Linked DNA regions of Homo sapiens: all the other regions are linked to region 1. Evidence: promoter capture Hi-C in 16 types of primary human blood cells and fetal thymus (Javierre and others, 2016). All regions are on one chromosome and are shown on one strand. The core of a region is centred on a gene start or on the middle of the fragment in contact, and the rest is flanking DNA. Distances in the headings are between cores, read along the strand shown. Region 1 holds the start of IL36A (interleukin 36 alpha). Region 2 has its middle 11 kb from the start of IL1RN. Region 3 overlaps IL1A (interleukin 1 alpha).

The links. Contacts are between HindIII fragments. The CHiCAGO score rates a contact against its expected background, and 5 or more counts as called.
Region 2: a fragment that was not itself captured here is called in contact with the fragment with the promoter of IL36A in region 1 in 2 of 17 cell types (non-activated CD4 T cells and naive CD4 T cells); the score reaches 6.3 in non-activated CD4 T cells.
Region 3: a fragment that was not itself captured here is called in contact with the fragment with the promoter of IL36A in region 1 in 1 of 17 cell types (M1 macrophages); the score reaches 5.5 in M1 macrophages.

What each region holds. Positions count from the first base shown.
Region 1 is chr2:113,003,818-113,006,851 of GRCh38, reverse strand. It overlaps IL36A (interleukin 36 alpha), which reads right to left and starts at 1,393. Exons shown (of 4, transcript NM_014440.3): 1 at 971-1,393; 2 at 765-878; 3 at 115-254. The coding sequence starts at 980. The HindIII fragment of the contact is 6,987 bases long and covers 1-3,034 here.
Region 2 is chr2:113,137,009-113,139,958 of GRCh38, reverse strand. No RefSeq gene overlaps it. Among named protein-coding and RNA genes, the nearest start is that of IL1RN, 11 kb to the right of the region's middle. The HindIII fragment of the contact is 236 bases long and covers 1,473-1,708 here.
Region 3 is chr2:112,771,803-112,774,584 of GRCh38, reverse strand. It overlaps IL1A (interleukin 1 alpha), which reads left to right. Exons shown (of 7, transcript NM_000575.5): 7 at 1-660. Among named protein-coding and RNA genes, the nearest start is that of CKAP2L, 8.6 kb to the right of the region's middle. The HindIII fragment of the contact is 1,340 bases long and covers 651-1,990 here.

The DNA.
Region 1 (3,034 bases), core at 144-2,643:
CCCAAGGAAACCAAAAATAAAAATGCATGAGCATAATAAGTACATTGTCTTTTAAAAGATCCTGAAATCTGAGTTTCCATCAAATAAATGGCAGGACCTGTCTTCCACACTCACCTTCAGCTGCAGTGTGGGCTGGTCCCCGACTTTAGCACACATCAGGCAGAGATTGAGTCCATTCAGGCCCAGGTAGATGGGGTTCCCTCTGTCTTTCTCAAGGGTCTCCACATGTCGGCATGAGATTAAGGCAATAGTGACTGGGAACACGATGTGAAAAGTGGTGTTCAGCTGCCATTTCCAGGGTGGTACCTCTGAGCCAGAGTTTTAAGGGAATCTGCTAACTGACACTCACAGTGCACTCATAGAATGGTCACCTCACCACCCACCACCTAACCGGGACACCCATCCTATGTTTGGGGAACACTTTCCATTAGAAAAGTCAGTCTTTCATGGATTCAAAAACTGGTCCTCCCATAGATTACCCTCTTTTGTCCTACTCTTACTCCTTGAAGTTTCTCAGAATACGTCTTCCACTGTTTTTCATAGGCTGACCCTTCAGTCTCCCTTAAGCCTTCTCTCTCTTCTCTGACTTCATGACCATAGTCCCAGAACAACCTTATGCTCACCCTCTATTCATTATTGTCTGTGAGATGCTCCTCTCTGTAGATATGCCCGGTTAACAAGCCCACTGTGGAATAACATCTGAGCACCAAACACACAACAGCACTGGCCAAAGGAGCTGCCTTTCACAGACCGTGGCTACTCACCTGGAGACATACGGTCCTTCCTCGGGACTGCTATGAGCGTCTGGTCCTGAAGAACCCACACCCGATGATTGATATCCTGAATGCTCCCCTGCTGAGGTGTGTCAATTTTCAATGCTGTTGAGAAAGTCAAAATGTAAATTAGTAAGAATGAGAGCACAGAATATCACCCCCTTGTCAATTTTTCGCCCTTCCACGAGGATCTTTACCTTTTTCCATTGTGGTGGTGTTGTTTCAGAACTGCCAAGGATAGGAGTCCTTTTATGTGCAGACCGACCCCAAGAGAGGACCTGAGTCAGTCCCAAGCCACAGTTTAACCCTGGGTCAGATGAAAGACTGGCGGCCAGCCCAGCAGTGACCCCAGTCAGAATCTATACTCCCAGAACTCACCCAGCACCCTTACTTTGTTGGATGCAGTCTACCTCCAGCAGAAGCAGCTGCACCTATGAATCCTGCCCAGGCCTAGACCCAGGAACTCTAATATGACAAAGAGTGCCAAGGCCAAAGACCTGGAAGCAAAAAAAATCAGAGGTCACCAGACTTTCCAGCATAGGCCACACTGATAATCTGTTACGAAGGACCCTGTATCCCTACCATTATGAACAATGGCTTCTACTGCACTTGGGTTTTCTGACAGGCTGTAACAGGGCCCAGGCCTTTTATCCACATGGGCAAGGAAGGAAGTTCTGCCTCACTAAGTCTGGCACTGCCCAACACTCAGGATATTTTCTAGTTCCTGATGCCAGAGGATTTAGTGACTCTTTATGTGAACAGCATGGTTAAGACTTCTCCAAGCAACCTGAAACATGAGGGCATGCTAAACTTTTAAGAGCAGGAAATATAGTCACAGATACTGAGTTGAGAAACATTACGGGACTTCTTCCGGGTCAATGACTCATCTCTGATGCCACAAAATGAAACGATGGAATTATTCCTAAGAGTGGGAGCCCTCAGTAAGTGCAAGGTAGACTGAGGAGGGATAGGTCTCTTAAGACCTCTGTAGCTTCTAATCACTCCTGGTCCACAGGAACTATATTCTTGGTCAATTTCAGACCAGAAGCCCACTCACTCCAGTGACCCTCCTCCAGCTTCTCAGAGCCACTGTGCATGCTGCTTCTCCATGGAAGAAGGGAGTATTACTGTAGCAAAGCCAGCTCCTGAGCACTCTAGCCACCTCAATGGACTCTAGATCACTATCTCTAGTATAGGTAGCGTGATAGTAAATTTTAAGTGTCAATTTGACTGGTTTAAGGAATACTTAAAGAACTGGTAATACATTAGTTTGGGGTAAGTCTATGAGGGTGTTTCCAAAGAAGATTGGTGTGTAAGTCAGTGTACTAGTGGGGAACATCTACCCTCAACGTAGGTGGGATCCATCCAACTGGCCGGGGGCATGGATGGCATGGAAAAGACAGAGAAAAGGTGATTTTCTGTCTCTCCTGGAGCTGGGGCATTCTCTCCTGCCTTTGGACATTATAACTCCAGACTTTGGACTCCAGGACTTAATATCAGCATCTCCCTGGGTTCTCAGGCTTTCTATCCCAAAGTGAGAATTACACCAGTGGCTTCCTAGTTCTGAGGCTTTAGGACTTGAACTGAGCATGTTACCTGCATCCCAGGGTCTCCAGCTTGCAGGTGGTCTGTCATGGGATTTCTCAGCCTCCAAAATTGCATGAGTTCATTCCCCTAATAAATCCCCTTTCATACAAGAGGTCATCAAAAAGTTCATGGAAAATGCATATTATGAAAAAAACTATGCATGGATTTTGAATTATTTTGCACCAAAATAAACTCCTACTAACTTGTTATAAGGTGTTTGAACAGGATCTAGTTTGAGGCACTAAGAAAGGTAAGACATCAGTTTGAAAAGAGCCCCTATAAGATCAACATGAATTCTTCTAAAATTGAAGCAAGAACAAAAATCAAATTTATGGTGAAACTTGGGTGGAAGAATGGTGAAATCATTGATGGCTTATAAAAAGTTTGTGGGGACAATGACCCAAAGAAATCAGCAGTTTACAATGGATAACTCATTTTAAGAAGTGAGACAATATTGAAAATAGCACCTGCAGCAGCAGACCATCCACATCACTTTGCAAGGAAAAAACTAATCTTTTTGTGCCCTAGTTGAAGAGGACTGAATATTAACAGCAGAAATGATAGCCAATATCATAGACATCTTAATTGGTTCAGCTTACACAATTATGACTAAAAAACTTAAAGTTGAAGCACAATGGCTCATGTCTGTAATCCCAGAACTTTGGGAGGCCGAG
Region 2 (2,950 bases), core at 341-2,840, 130 kb before region 1:
CTCTAGGGAGCACAAACAGCAAAACACTGAATCTTTACTTTAAGGTGCTCAGGGGATGGTTAAAACATACACCTCTGGAAAGACCCCAGAGGCGCCATGCAGATCAGGGGTCTGGGCTACAGGTCCTCATGGAGTCTAGAAGAGGGGGTTATTGAGGGCTGGTATGGACCGTGCTCGATGTCTTCATGGAACAAATTGTCCAAGAGCCTCGCTTTGAGGAGATTTTTGTAGGAACTAGGGGGTGCAGATGGGGAGAGAGAGCACTTAGAAGTAGAGCATGGGGTGGTGAAAGGACAAATTTCAGAGTGTCCAAGGCCTATTTATGCTTTAGGACAGACTAGAATCCTTACCATTGCCTACTAGGTTAGCAAGATCTAGCCCCAGCCTAGCTCCCTGTGCTCCAACCACAGGCCTGAGTTGAAAGAAAACTAAACTCCTGTGACTTATAATAAATACTGCCAAGGAGGGAAGGCGAAGATGTCAGTGTGACTCCATTGTGGCCTAAGGAAGATGTGTCTTGACTCTACACACAGACATACTGATCTCTTGGCAGGAAGCCCCTTGGAGTGGAGGTGGAGCGCTCAGGTGGGGCAGCTTGAGGTCCCTGGTCACTAAGATCTTTCCTCTGCTCTGACTCCAAGCAAATCAAGTTTCCTGAGTCATCTGACTGTGTCAACTGTCCCTGGGAAAGAATGCAGGCATAGCTGGCCCCTGAACAGATCCATTCCCCACTGTAGTGAGTGCCTGGGTATTTTATCTATCTCTTTTACGAGTTCTGTCCACTACCCACCAACACACAAAAGTACGCATTTCCCTTGTAGGCACGCCGTTGGGATTCCTGTGCTGAGTTCCAACATGTGGGTGTGTTCCCCCGGCCGAGGAGGGAAGTGTTAATTCCACACACCAGTCAATCATACAGGTAAAAGGTCTGCAACAGATAACAGGATGACAGGAAGTGGACTTTAAAGCAGGCACAGAAGACTTAGAATTTCTCGGGTGTCACCCCTTGGAGACTAGACATTGGCAATAGGCAACATTTGGATACTTGTCAGGAGTCAGGCCCCACCTCAGCTTGATTGATAGGTGAATGAAAATAAATTTTTCCTTAGAGTGAAACACCTAGAGAGTCTTGAAAAACCAGACCTTCACTAATTTGAGAGCATGAACCAAACTGATTATTTGCCTTGTCAAGATTCTTTCCAGGCCGGGTGTGGTGGCTCACACGGTAATGCTAGAACTTTGGGAGGCTGAGGCGGGCGGATTGCTTGAGTCTGGGAGTTGGACACCAGCCTGGGCAAAATGGTGAAACCCCGTTTCTATTTAAAAAAAAAAAAACAAAAACACTTTCCAGAGCAGTCAGGTGTGTACAAAATGCTGACCCCTGGTGGATATTTCCTGAACTACTCTTTTAGCTCCACATGAAGGAGACCCAGAGGCAAGACGTCAAAGCTAATCTTCCCTGTTTTTAAGCTTTCTCAGGTTTAAAGCTAAGAACCCAATAGATGAGTTTCATTGTCTCCAGAAACTTTTATGGAGAGAACTGGGCTGAATATCAAGCATGTTGAGATTTGCTGTTGTGGCTAGGGATTTCATAGTTATGTGAAGAGAAAACAAAAACTTATTTGGTTTCCCCAAGATTTGCAAGAATTTTACCCCAATTTGACACCCCCTGTTGAAGGCCAATTTATGTTCCCCCCAGAATGAAGCTTGAAATGTGTTTTAGCCAGCCTGTGATTGAGAAAATAGAAAATCTTCTACCTTCAACCCAAATTAACATGTAGTCAAAATGTACTGCTGATGCGGTAAGTGGCCTTTCTTTGAAGTTAAAGACCATCTCCCTCCATTGTATTGACAGACACTACCAGGGCCAGGTGGGAGAGCTGGGAGGACTTGACCTCAGGGTCCCTGACTTAGGAGCTATGTGGTCCACAGGGCCTCAGCCCTGGCATCATGATGTCCTTGTCCCACACCCAGATCAAGTGAATCAGAACCTCTGGATGGAGGAGGTAGGCCACTTTTGGTAAAAAGCTCCTGCAGGTCAGCCTGATGAAGACACATATCTAGTTCAATTCCCTCCTTTTATGAAAACTGAGGCCTAGGGAGGAGAGGTTGCTTGGCCAAGGGCCCCCCAGGGAGTCTGTAGGAAAACTCTGACTCACCAATGAAAGACCTGAATTCAGCCTTGAATTTTCAAACAGTTGTCCTTGATTCTGTAGTGTTGTAGTAGATCAGGCCCAGAAGTGACGGAAGAAGCCACAATCCTCTTGAGGCTTGCTTGTCTTCCCTCTCTGTGCTTTTCTCTCCCATCTCAGCCCCTCCACCTCCCAGTCACCTGTGCACCGCCTCCCAGTTGAACAAAAGCCTCACTTAAGCATGAACCCCAGGCCTGGCTTTCCTAATCCATGGCCCCTGCCTTGTGCTATATAAAGTGCTGGCCCCTTGATTATTAATTTCCTCACCGCAGGCTGAGACCAGACCTGGAATACCCCACCAAGCCAAACTCAAATGTTTGCACATCCACTTGCTTTAAACATAGCCCCAATAAGCCTATGGTAATCCATTTAGAACCTGCCTGCTCTGTATACTCCATGAAACTGTATCCAATATCTGCTGGCCAAGGATAAGCCCCAAGCCATAAAGGCCTCAAGCCACTGCAGCCCATAGGAGCTCTCTGACCCAGAGATTCCCTGCTGTGCTGCTGGGTGACTTCACCTGGCCATGTAAGCCCCCTTTCCAATTCTCTTCTTTCCTAGGAGTCCTCTTGCCCTCCTTCCCCTCTGAGTAGGACCCCATCTCCACACTATAGCCTCCTTGACCAATTCCTGCTATAAAGGACCTTCCCCAGTGTAAACCTGTTAAAGCATCAACCCGAAAGCCTATGTGTGCTACCGCCACCTCGTGGTCATATCTTTTTTCTTAACCTCCAAATATCTGAAAAATCCTTCACTCT
Region 3 (2,782 bases), core at 71-2,570, 230 kb after region 1:
GAGGGAATAATACCTAAGCCTTCCTGCCGCAACAGTTTTTTATGCTAATCAGGGAGGTCATTTTGGTAAAATACTTCTTGAAGCCGAGCCTCAAGATGAAGGCAAAGCACGAAATGTTATTTTTTAATTATTATTTATATATGTATTTATAAATATATTTAAGATAATTATAATATACTATATTTATGGGAACCCCTTCATCCTCTGAGTGTGACCAGGCATCCTCCACAATAGCAGACAGTGTTTTCTGGGATAAGTAAGTTTGATTTCATTAATACAGGGCATTTTGGTCCAAGTTGTGCTTATCCCATAGCCAGGAAACTCTGCATTCTAGTACTTGGGAGACCTGTAATCATATAATAAATGTACATTAATTACCTTGAGCCAGTAATTGGTCCGATCTTTGACTCTTTTGCCATTAAACTTACCTGGGCATTCTTGTTTCAATTCCACCTGCAATCAAGTCCTACAAGCTAAAATTAGATGAACTCAACTTTGACAACCATGAGACCACTGTTATCAAAACTTTCTTTTCTGGAATGTAATCAATGTTTCTTCTAGGTTCTAAAAATTGTGATCAGACCATAATGTTACATTATTATCAACAATAGTGATTGATAGAGTGTTATCAGTCATAACTAAATAAAGCTTGCAACAAAATTCTCTGACACATAGTTATTCATTGCCTTAATCATTATTTTACTGCATGGTAATTAGGGACAAATGGTAAATGTTTACATAAATAATTGTATTTAGTGTTACTTTATAAAATCAAACCAAGATTTTATATTTTTTTCTCCTCTTTGTTAGCTGCCAGTATGCATAAATGGCATTAAGAATGATAATATTTCCGGGTTCACTTAAAGCTCACATTACACATACACAAAACATGTGTTCCCATCTTTATACAAACTCACACATACAGAGCTACATTAAAAACAACTAATAGGCCAGGCACGGTGGCTCAGACCTGTAATCCCAGCACTTTGGGAGGCCAAGGTGGGAAGATCACTTGAGGTCAGGAGTTCAAGACCAGCCTAGGCAACATAGTGAGATCTCATCTCTACAAAAAAAAATGAAAAATTAAAAAATGAGCTGGACATGGTAGTACACACCTGTAGTCCCAGCTACTCGGGAGGCTTGAGGTGGGAGGATCACTTGAGCCTGGGAGATGGAGGCTGCAGTGAGCCATAATCACACCATTGCACCCCAACCTGGGCAACAGAGTGAGACCCAGTCTCAAAAGATAAATTTTTAAAAATGTTAAAAAATATATAAAAGAGAATTTTAAAAGAACAACTAATAGATCAAAGCATGGATGCAAGATATATTTAGTTGGAAAATCAAGGTTAAAATCAAGGGATCTTGGAATTAGGTGTGGTAGATTTGGGTAAGGAGTAGTCTAAGATGACCCTGTTTCTTGGTACTGGAGACTGGATGAGTGGCAGCGTCTTAACCATATTTTTGGTAGAAATATGGAGGTCTTCTCCATTCCAGGATGAATGATGAGTAAAATTTTAGGCATGTAATTTGAGCTACTAGAAGGACACTCAATTGCAGATGTACAATGGGGAGATGATAACCTATCTGGAACTCAGAAAAATAACTGTATATAGATATGAAAGACATCAGTAGGTATGTAGTAGATAAAATCCTAAAAGTGATGTCAAAGGGAGAAGAGAAGTATATGGTGAACACTGTTGTTTGTCCATGCAATTGCCATCTCTTCTTCTTCCTTACTGACAGAACCCTGATTTCACTGAGAAGTCAACATGCCCTTCCCCAATTGATGAATCCAATTGGTTTAAGATTATGTTCATTCTATTCTTACATGACTAAGTCACGTTGACTTAATCCTATCAAATGAGATGTCGATCTGGAAACAACTTCTGGAAAAGATTTTCTACCTTGATAAAATAAAGAGCCATATAGATGGTCCTTTATCTTCCTTCTTCCTTGAATGAGATATGTTCTATGAGGAAGTGAAGCTTAGAACTGTGGTCAGCAACTTGCAACGACTGGGAAGTCAGAGCCACACAATGAAGAATGCAGAGTGGAAGGAGAAAAAGAGCCAGCATCTCTGACAACATTGTTACACCGAGAACCTACCTCCAGATTTTAAGAAAACAAGAAATGCTACTGTTATTAAGCCATTTCACTGGGTTTGCTATGACTTGCAGTCAAATCTAGCTTAACTGATACAGAGCACCACAGAGAACTGGTCTCTCATTTGTCTCATCCTGTTCTTTCTAGCAGCCACGACTTTCCTAGGGTTTCCTTAGCCCAAGTCTGGCTAGAGCAAGACTAAGTAAGACTTGATTCCTTAATGTCCTTTTGTTTTAAGAAATATTAAAGAATTATTTTTATATTAATATATTTTAAGAAATAAGGAAATACAAAACACTGAGCAAGCAACACAAATTCAAGAAATCTTAAAAAGTATAATAGCTGCTCAGTCTCTGATTAACAGTGAAATATGGAATCATTGTAGAAATGGCCTTGGAGCGTTATTCTCCCAGGCCAGCTATCCTTATGGTCTGCCCCACCTCCCTCATTGCCTAAACAGTAAGAGAGTCACCATGGTGAGACTCAACAGTCTTAGCACAGAACTTGTTACAGTCTATTTCTTTTCTTACAGTCCTATATATCAAGTTCCAAATCAATGAGAGTAAAGCCAAATCCCTGCCTTTAAACCCAAGGGACAGAAGCAAAAAGCCAAAAGATATTTCCCTAACCTTCCTCCCACTGAGTAGACTCCTCTGACATTTAAAAACCCCTACGC